Linked DNA regions of Homo sapiens: regions 2 and 3 are each linked to region 1. Evidence: promoter capture Hi-C in 16 types of primary human blood cells and fetal thymus (Javierre and others, 2016). All regions are on one chromosome and are shown on one strand. Each heading gives the region's core, a stretch centred on a gene start or on the middle of the fragment in contact. The rest is flanking DNA. Distances are from core to core; before and after follow the strand shown.

Region 1 (3,416 bases), core at 378-2,877:
TACATTCTCACATTCTAATGACAATATGGCTTAATAGAAAATAAGTTCAAAGTTATGCTTTTAAATACTTACATATAGAAACATTTTGCTTGAGATAAACCTTTTCAATCTGAAGGTTTTTTTCTACCTTGAAATTTATCTCCATTATATCTTCAAATATTTCCCCTTCTCTGTTTTTATATTTCTTCCTTTCTGTTCTAGTTTTACCCTAGATATAAGCTAGAAAATTTACAAATAAGCTAACTTGTTTTTTAAAACATTTTCTACTGCCTCTGGAGGTTTGCTGAAAGTGCTCTTCCAATTACTAATTCATCGTCAGCTGCATCTTTTAGACTATTGCACATTACTAATACGTAGCATCAATATTCATTCTAATTATTATTTTTATGCTTAATATGTTTTAGTTTCATATTTTTTCCTGATTCATATTGCTAATATCATAACTCATTTTAAATAAATTTATCATGCTTATTTAAAAATCTTGGTCCATCTGCTCTACTGATCAGTTTCAGATGGCATATGTTATTCAGTTGTGGTCTTTTAACAGTAGTTGCACTCCTCCAGTGTCTAATTCTTTGTCCTATGAATTCATGTTCCCCTGGGGTTTCACCTACTCTGTCTGATAAACATGCATCCAGGAAGGCCCAGTGAGTTTGCAGTGGGAGGGTGGTGTGAGCCCAGAAGGAAATCGCTGGCACCAGAGAACCACTGTCTATCATTCCCAGTTTCTCCCACTTACCCAGATCTTTCCTCCAGTCAGGTTTCTACCCTTAGGGAGAAGCAGCACCTAAAGGAAGCAATTAACCTAGCAACCCTAAGGGTGGCAGGGGGAAGGGTAGAGGCTTGATTGAGAGGAGGTGGGGGGAGGTCGGCCTGCAGTTTTTTTTGTTTTTCGTTTTTTAAATTCCTCACCCCAACAGTGCTTTTGCGCTGGTCTGACACTACCTGGAAAACTATGCCACCAGTCGCTTCAGTGGACACTACCATTTCAATTGCGAAGTCAGGCAATGATTGTCCTAAGGCAAGGTGGGAGAGAAGTCAGAGTAAACCACCTCGAGAGCGCCGGTCTCCCGGAGTGTCTGGGTTCGACTCCTGCCTCCACAACTTACTGGGTCTCCTCGAACAAGTTGCATCACCAATGGCCGTGCCTCAGTTTCCCTCCTCCGTAGATTAGGAATAACAATAGCAGTGAGAACAGAATCCAGCACACAGTAAATGCTGCTTACCTGTTTGCTATGTGGAATACGCCACTACACTGTTGCTCGGCCCTCAGGAAGGGTCTGCTGAGACTTTCTACTTCCTGCTCAGGGCAGAGGCCGACCACCCGCCCAAGGTCGTGGCGGCGCCGGCTCAGCTTTAGTCGTCAAAGTGCACATCCTGGGAGCCGCTGCCTCGAGGTGGTTGAGGCGAGAGGGCAGGGAAGCGTCTGAGCCTCTTCCTCCCACCAGAGCAGGACCCCAGCTGACAGCGGGTGAGCTGGGCAGAAACCCATGCCGGGAAGAGGCGGACCCAGTGGACCGCAGCGCCCGCAGTCGCCGGGCCAGGCGCAGAGGCGAACGGGAGGCGGCGCTGCACCGTGCCCGCCCCTCCCCGGCCCGGCCCCGGCTCCAGCCCCAGCCCCAGCCCCAGCCCCGGCCCCGGCCCCGGCTCGCGGGCGCTGCGTCTCCGCGTACAGGAGGCGGCGGCGGCTCCCAGTCACCGGCCCCCGCCGGCGAGCGCACGATGCACTGCCTGGGCGCCGAGTACCTGGTAAGCGCTCGCAGCCTCGGCCCTCGGGGGAGGAGCCCCGGGGAAGGGTCGAGTCCCCCGCCTTCACGCACCTTCCCTGCCGGACGCTTCCGCCTTTCCCGCGCCTCGGGGATCCCGCCCCCGCTTAGTACCTTGGGGCCACCTGGCGGGGAGGAACCTGGACCCTGCTCCAGTGCTGGGGCGGAGGCGGGGGAGACGCGGGCCGCGGGGCGCAAACTTGGGGTCGTCCTCAGGTGCACCTCCAGGTAAGCACTTGGCGGCAGGGGGCTTAACATCCGCTCCGCGCAGAGCAGGTGTTTCAAAGGCTGTGTGAAAGAGCTTCAGGTGGCCACGTAAAAAAATAATATTAATTTTAAAAATTTAGAAAAAGATTGGTTACTTTGGCCCCTCTTCGAGTAGATTTGGGTTCGGTTTCCAGGTTGAGTCCACCTGTTTATCTTCTTTTTCTCAACTCTCCCTTTTTCTGGAAGGTTTCTGCAGAAGGAGCCCCTAGGCAAAGGGAGTGGCGACCCCAGATTTATAGGAAATGCACAGATACGGCATGGTTATTCCTGTTCTTTCTCTTTTGGACTGGTTTGGTAAGTGTGGGTGCTTGGTAGGAAAGAGGCCAGAGTGTGTGTGCACGTCTGGAAATAACTCTGTCCCAAATGTAAATCGTAGTTGGTGCTGCAGTGAGAGACTTCTGCCGTTAACCCACAATAAACATCAGTTTGTACTCGGGAGAATTCTTGTCCTAGACTCGCTAGAAAGGCTGTCTTTTTGCTACAGGCCATGTTCTAAGGGGTGACTCCATTAGGAAATGGGAATTAACAGTTTGCAATGTGATTGCTATTTAGTAAGGCCAATGTGTCTCCTTTTACTCTCCGAACTTACTGAACAGAAGTTCTTTTAGCACCTGCCACACCCCCAAATCAAATATTCCTCAAGCTTTTGGTGCACCTTTAACAAAGGAAAAGCCAGGGTAAGCCTAGAAATAAACTGCATTTCCTTTAGCTGAACATCACACACACACGCGCGCGAGAGATATGTTGTGTTTAGCAGCCAACACTGTTAACCATAGCTAACAAGGAATGATTTTTCCCACTCTAATTTCGAGGTATGTATGATTGCTGGTAAACTCCATCAGGCTATGCGGTTATAATCCTGAGAGAGTCTGTTGGAAGCCGAATCTTGCTGCTTTTATACTTATTTTAGAATTGTAGGTAACAGCAGAAAACGTCTCACCCGACATTTTCAAAGGCCACTTTCACGAAATCATCCATGCCAGGATAAGGCATGCTATTTGCTGCATGGTAAATGATTAATTTATAGAGCAGGGTAATAACTACCAGATAGTAATTACCTTTGTTGAAAAGAATTCCATCTGAATAGGCCCTAAAATATCATGTTTGTTCTTTCCAAGTAAGAAAGGCATTTGTTCACTTATGACCCGTTTCACATAGACAGGCTTGGTTACAGGCACAGTGGAAGGTTAGGTCTGAAACACATAATCAGATGTTTTTTGTTGCTTACGTTGGAACTCTCCCCTAGGAGCTGGGAGAGACAGTGCACCTACAATACCTTCTGCTTAACTTCGCAGATGGTTGGTGTTTTTATCTGAGACTGCTGTTGTATAAATGCAGGGAGCAGCTGGCCTGCCTTGTGCCTGGCAGCTTTGACCTCAAGCT
Region 2 (3,416 bases), core at 255-2,754, 290 kb before region 1:
TTTCCAAGACTGAGAAGATCCAATTTAGGCATATTGAACCCTATTGAGCCCCTTTAGAAGATATCTGCAGTAAAAGAAAAAGGAAGGGAGTATTATGCATTGAACCAAAAACAAATTTTGTGCCTGGGATCCTCAATAGAGGGAGAAATGTGAGCATGGCGGGACCTTTAGAGATGACCTGATCCAGCCGGTTGGCTGAGGAACCTGGGTCTCCGAGGGGGCCCTGCCCAGAGTCACAGGGTAGTGCAGAGTCACAGGTAGGACCAGGCCTGTTGTCCACCCCTCCCCACAGTGCGCGCTCCCCCTTCTACTCCATCACCTTCTCAACAACTCTGTTCTGCTATTTTTGAATTGGGGAAGAAATGGGTTGTAAAACCCAAGTATTCACAATTTAAAACAGGTCATAAAAACAAATTAAAAAATGCTCACCTTTCCTGAACTTGAAGATTTCCAATAATAAAGTGTATAAATTAAGTCCTTGCCAAAAACATCCCGGAGGCTTAGGAAAGTGTTGTTCCTTCTGACTAAAGTCCGTTCATCTTCTACGGTCACATTCACTTTTGTTCCCACCTGTTCAAAACTCTGAATTGTTGGCTGTCCGAGGTTTGCTGAAACAAAGGAAATGAGCTTGGTTGGAACCAAAGAATTCTGTACAAAGTCAAATCCTGTTTTGTTATCACAATTGACAACTTAATTATCTCTCATATAAAACATGTGCATAGAACCAGCTCCCTGAAAGAAGCAGGCGTGGCGGCCTGGAGCTGAATCCTAAGACATTCTGTGGTAGTGCTGGCCCAAGGGGAAGACAATGGAGCCTCAGATGTCATTTTAAGTTTTCTAGTAGTCACATTAGAAAAAGTAAAAAGGAACAGGTGAAATTAATTTTAATAATATATTTTATTTAACCAAAGACAGTTGACCCCTGAACAACATGGGTTTGAACTCTGTGGATCCACTTGTATGCAAATTTTTTTAAATAAAAGTTACACCAAGTGTGCCGCCTCCTACTTCCTCCATCTTTTCTCCTGCCGTGGCCCCTGCTCTTCCTCCTCCTCCTCCTCCTCAGCCTACTCAACATGAAGATGACGAGGATGAACACCTTTATGATGATCCACTTCCACTTTATCAATAGTAAATATATTTTCTCTTCCTTATAATTCTTTCTCTTCCTTCCTTCTTTCTTTTCTTTTCTTTTCTTTTTTTTCTTTCTTTCCCTTTCTTTTTTAGACAGAGTCTCGCTCTGTCACCCAGGCCGGAGTGCAGTGGCGCAATCTCAGTTCACTGCAACCTCCTCCACCTGGGTTGAAGTGATTCTCCTGCCTCAGCCTCCCAAGTAGCTGGGATTACAGGCACCCACAACCACGCCTGGCTAATTTTTGTATTTTTAGTAGAGATGGGGTTTCACCATGTTGGCCAGGCTGGTCTTGAACTCCTGACCTCAAGTGATCCACCCGCCTTAGCATCCCAAAGTTCTGAGATTACAGGCACGAGCCACCATGCCCAGCCTCTTTTCCTTATAATTTTCTTAATAACATTTTCTTTCCTCTAGCTTACTTTATTGTAAGAATACAGTATATAATACACGCAACATGAAAAATGTGTGTTAATTGACTGTTTATCTTATTGGTAAGGCTGCAGTCAACAGTCAACCGATAGGTAGGCTATTAGTAGTTAAGTTTTTGGGGAGTCAAGTTATACTCGGATTTTCAACTGCACAGGGAGTCGGTGCCTCTCAGCCATGCATTGCTTGAGTCAACTGCATATATCTGGAATATAATCATTTTAATGTGTAATCAATATAAAAAAGTTTTGAGATATTCTACACTTCTTAAATTCCAGTGTGTACTTTATACTTAGAGCATTAGCCATATTTCAAGTGGTCAACAGCCACATGTGGCTAGTGGCTACTATACTGAACAGGGTGGTAGCATAAACTACGATATTTTAGGTTCAAAAATATGTAGGGCTGTGAGAAAGCCCAGGAAATGTCCTTGGTACCTCGAGAAGCCGGATTTAACCACGGGGTCTCTGCAATGGCTCAATTATCTCATGTGCTTTGGTTAAATGACAGGAAAACAAACATCAATTCACAGGCCAAATATGTGTGTGCACATGCAAAACAAACACATAAAATATCTTCTATCTTGCACCAACAAAGGATTTGAAGTAGCTTACAAAAAAACTCAAGAACTATTAATATAAAAGAGAATCATGAGGATGCCATTAATTAGGGGGGAAATGAATGTCAACCATGCCACAGTCACCAGAGGGGCTGCTGACGCTGCTACATTCTTGCCTGGTGCCACAAAAGACACAAGCAGAAGCACCTGGGGGTCTGGAGGGTCTTGCAAATGGGGGCTCTGGGAAGGCAGCCACATTCACCTGGGGTCAGGCCCCCTATTTCAACCCTCAAAGTAGATACCAGAGGAGGATGGTTGGTTGGTTGTCCGTCCACCCCTTCTTTTCACCATTCCTACCTTGAGAAACTGTTCTCTCTCGCTGGGCCTAACACTCACACAACACCTTCATTCTAACCAGCTGGCCTTACAAGAGAAGCTAATTTCACTCTACTCAATGTGCTACATGCATTTATCTAAATTGCCTAGCTCAGAGCCACAGTTGCGGCAAAAGAATAAATCTCCTACTTGACAGGAATTCTCTTCATTCTTTTACTGGCTCCTAGGGCCAGCTTACAGGGGCAAAGGCTGAGGAGGAAAGTATTCCACCTTTCCAAAACCAGAACGAGGGTGACAGGCAGATGGCTGGGCAGGTGCTGGCACATCACGGAACTCAAATCATGGCCAACTGATTAGAAAAGGTCAGCATAATTAGGCTAATTATGGGCTCAGAGGGAAACCATGGACTTTCCTCATTGATTTATGACCGTTTGGGAAAAATCCTCAACTGGGATTTTTAGTGTGATAACGGGACAGAAAAATCAGGATACATGATATATATATAGGGAAAAGCTAAAACCCCGGCCTTGGTGGATTTCCTATCCCTACCCGCTTCCCTGGCCCGCCCTCTCCCAACACACATTCAGCCGGTTACTGAGGACAGTAACAGGGTCTGGGGACAGACTGGGGGAGAAAGTTACTTGATGACACTGTCATCAGCTCCAAAGTTCACATTCTGTGAACCTCCTACCACATCTGGAATGTGTGAAGAGGGCTGTGATACATACCAGTTTCTGAGAAAAAAAGAATAAATATTTTTAATTTTGTAGCCCCTAAAGGCACAAGATCACGAGAATGTTCAGACGTTTCTAACAAGAATGAACGGTATTACAGCCCAAGCCACTTACTCTCCAGGTAAGGTGTGAACTCTGGGGAGTTCTCATACAGAGGCTCCCCAGCAGAACCGGTGCTCTCCACATTCCCTGCCGGGTAGGAGAAGACCCGTGCCAAGTACGTCTG
Region 3 (3,416 bases), core at 272-2,771, 260 kb before region 1:
ACAGTCTCTTGGCCTCTTGTGCTCTCCACCCAGTAGCTCTCATTGCCCTGCCTGGGTTTGGGGCCCAACCCATGACATAGATACCTTTGGGAGGTGAAAAGCTGAATTAGCAAGAGGCCAGACAGAATGACACAGACAAGCCTGTCTTTCTGGAAAGCCATTGTTCTCATGTCAACTCTTGAGAAATGTGTCTCTAAGATTTCAGCCAGGAAACTTATGAAGCCCATGCTCTTAACCTGTGGGGCAGAAGATCCCAGGTCAGGGGCTCCTTCAAGGACAGGGCCAGCATGGAAAAGCCGCTGTTACTATTTTCAAGACAACAGGGCCACTGAGAAATGTTTAGAACAAAGCTTTGGTGATGCAGAATCATTCACACTTTCAGCACATTACATTAATCAAAGGAAACTCAATTATATTAGCTATGCTTTGTACCACTTTGTTTATTAAAACCAGGACATGAGCAATGCATTTTAGAAATTTTTTCAGTAAGTCTTGAAATAACAAAGGATTTCTTTGTATAACTCAGTTTGGAATACCAGTGCTGTCCAACAGAGATATGTGAGCCACATATGCGACTTAAATTTTTTAGTAGCCATATTTAAAAAAATAGAAACAGGTGAAATGAGTTTTGAGCTTGTTTTACTGATCCCAATATATCCCAAGCATTATCATTTCAATATGTAATCAGTATAAAAATTATTAATGAGATATTTTACATTCTGGTTTTTGTTTTTACTTTTTTGTGGAGGGGATACTAAGTCAAAATTCAATGTATCTTTTTTTTTTTTTTTTTTTTGAGATGGAGTCTTGCTCTGTCACTCAGGCTGGAGTGCAGTGGCGCGATCTCGGCTCACTGCGAGCTCCACCTCCCGAGTTCACGCCATTCTTCCGCCTCAGCCTCCCGAGTAGCTGGGACTACAGACGCCTGTCACCACGCCTGACTAATTTTGTTTTGTATTTTTAGTAGACGGGGTTTCACTGTGTTAGCCAGGATGGTCTCGATCTCCTGACCTCGTGATCCACCCGCCTCGGCCTCCCAAAGTGCTGGGATTATAGGCGTGAGCCACCGCGCCCAGCCCAGTGTATCATTTTTAAAGAGCGTCTCAATTAGAACTAGCTGTGCTTCAAGTTCTCAGTAGCCACAGGTAGCTAGTGGGTGGCTACTATATAGAAAGAAGAGTGTAATCCTAAGCCTTTTGTATACCACGGACTTTCTGCACTTTTGAATTCTAACGCAAGGAACTCATCATTAACTCAACTTGACCTGAGGTTCTCAGTATGGATGGCAAAGCTCATGTTAATGTGCTAATCATCTGCCACACTAGTCTCCTTCCTGGGCTATTCCTGCTTCCACTATATTTTGTATACACAATTAGGATGATCCCTATAAAGCTGAAGTTAGATACCATCACTTCTCTGCTCAAAACTTTTCCGTGGCTTTACATCCCAGTCATTACCATGGCTTACAAGGCTCCACACAGTCTGATCCCTGCCTACAGCGTTGGTCTCACTTCCTACAATTCTCTCCCTCGCTTGCTCCACTTACTCATCTCAGCCACATGGGATTGTTGCTGCTCTTTGACTGTGCCAAGCACACTCGTGCCCCATTCGCTTCTCCCCTTGTGCTAGAGCTCTTTCCCCAACATCTTCCCATGGTTTACCTTGAACTTCCTGCACAATGTCATTCCTCAGAGAGGCCTTCCTGGAGTACTCTATATAAAATAGCCCTCAAAGAGGGCTTCTCTTAAGGCCCCTTCTCATGACCCTATAGTTTCATCCTCTTCTTACCCACTTTATTGCTTTTCATAGCACTTGTTTGTTAGCTAGTTTATTTTCTACCTCCCTCAGCCCCACACCACACAAGGTGAGCTCCATGAAAGGAGGGACTTCCTCTGTTTCATTCGGAGGCACTGGGGACCCAGCAATAGAATCTGGAACACAGTAGGTGCTCAACAAATATTGGTAAGTGAAAGAATAAAGGAATGAATCCAATTTTGGTGAGAGATGCTTCTGAGTATTATGGGTTCCCACAACAATAATAGATTTATATCTAAGGTCCTTATTTGAGCTTAGTTCTCAAACCAAGCAACTGTTTTCCCAGTGGTAAATACTCCCCTGAACAGAAACGCAATGGCCATGCATTCATCCAGGTCATTCAGCTCTGCTTGGTGTCTCGCTTCCTGATCCCCTTATTGCACTTCTTATTAGTGCAGCCATTATCTCACCTTTTGCAGGCCAGATCAGACATGCTTTGTTTTATTTGATGAATTGTAAATCGATAGTCATCTCACACAGCAGTTCCCAACCTTTTTGGCACCAGGGACTGGTTTCATGTGAGACAACTTTTCCACAGACTGGGGTTGGTGGGGCGATCTTTTCGGGATGATTCGAGTGCATTGGGTTTATTGTGCACTTTATTTCTATTATTATTACATTATAATATATAATGAAATAATTATACAACTCACCATAATGTAGCATCAGTGGGACCCCAGTCCCACCTGGGGGTGACGGGAGACAGTGACAGATCATCAGGCATTAGACTCTCATAAGGAGCGGGCAACCTAGATCCTGCACGTGCACAGTTCACAACAGAGTTTGCACTCCATGAGATTCTAATGTGACAGCTGATCTGACAGGAGTCGGAGCTCATGCAGTAATGCAATTGAAGGGGAGTGGCTGTAAACACAGAAGAAGCTTTGTTCGCTCGCCCACCACTCTCCTCCTACTGTGTAGCCCAGTTCCTAACAGGCCATGGACTGGTATCAGTTGATGGCCCAGTGGTGGGGGATCCCTGTTCTAACTAATCCTACACGTGTTGCTTTGCTCATGGCTCCTGCTTACAGCACCTCGAGTTGCTTAAAACTAGATAAACAATCTCTGTTAAGGAAGTCCAGCCTTCCTTGTGACTATCCGGTTGTCCTTCTCTTTAATAGTATGCACACATTCCCTTCAGAAACTCAGGGAGGATCCCTGGCATTTGTGTTTGGGCATTGGAATTCACACTAATTTCCCTGTCCAGGTTGGGTGCTCACAGCCATGAGGAGTGGCTAAGTAAACATCTGCTCTCGGCAGGGCCCTCTGAGATCAGGCACAGCCATCAACAGTGGCTGCATGCCTCTCATGCTTCTGAGTTACGTTTGTCCTGCTTCTGAGAAGATCAGCCACTTCAGAATGAACCAATTAATACAATCGCTAGGTGCCCTCCTGTAGTACCTCTGTGAGGTTTGAAGGACTTGCCCTGATGAACCTCCACTTCCCTGTAATTCCCTATAAGATCTGCAGCACAAAGCTGTGAAGGTGCTGGTCAGGGGTGGAATGCAACTGATGCTGTCACCAGACTCTAATCCCAATATCTCCCAGATATTCCACAGATACCACATTCTAACCAGAATAATCTGCATCATCTAAAGGGT

What was found. Contacts are between HindIII fragments. The CHiCAGO score rates a contact against its expected background, and 5 or more counts as called.
Region 2: a fragment that was not itself captured here is called in contact with the fragment with the promoter of SLC44A3 in region 1 in 8 of 17 cell types (monocytes, endothelial precursors, M1 macrophages and 5 more); the score reaches 12.8 in monocytes.
Region 3: a fragment that was not itself captured here is called in contact with the fragment with the promoter of SLC44A3 in region 1 in 1 of 17 cell types (monocytes); the score reaches 5.0 in monocytes.

The regions. Positions count from the first base shown.
Region 1 is chr1:94,818,730-94,822,145 of GRCh38, forward strand. SLC44A3 (solute carrier family 44 member 3) reads left to right here and starts at 1,628. Exons shown (of 15, transcript NM_001114106.3): 1 at 1,628-1,749; 2 at 2,220-2,327. The coding sequence starts at 1,723. It overlaps SLC44A3-AS1 (SLC44A3 antisense RNA 1), which reads right to left and starts at 1,503. Exons shown (of 6, transcript NR_160780.1): 1 at 1,227-1,503. RefSeq lists a silencer at 1,632-1,821. The HindIII fragment of the contact is 9,215 bases long and covers 1-2,674 here.
Region 2 is chr1:94,532,661-94,536,076 of GRCh38, forward strand. F3 (coagulation factor III, tissue factor) reads right to left here. Exons shown (of 6, transcript NM_001993.5): 3 at 3,305-3,416; 4 at 430-608. Among named protein-coding and RNA genes, the nearest start is that of F3, 7.4 kb to the right of the region's middle. The HindIII fragment of the contact is 8,136 bases long and covers 1-3,416 here.
Region 3 is chr1:94,560,020-94,563,435 of GRCh38, forward strand. It overlaps LOC105378861 (a long non-coding RNA gene), which reads left to right and starts at 3,084. Exons shown (of 3, transcript XR_001738160.3): 1 at 3,084-3,416. The HindIII fragment of the contact is 2,347 bases long and covers 349-2,695 here.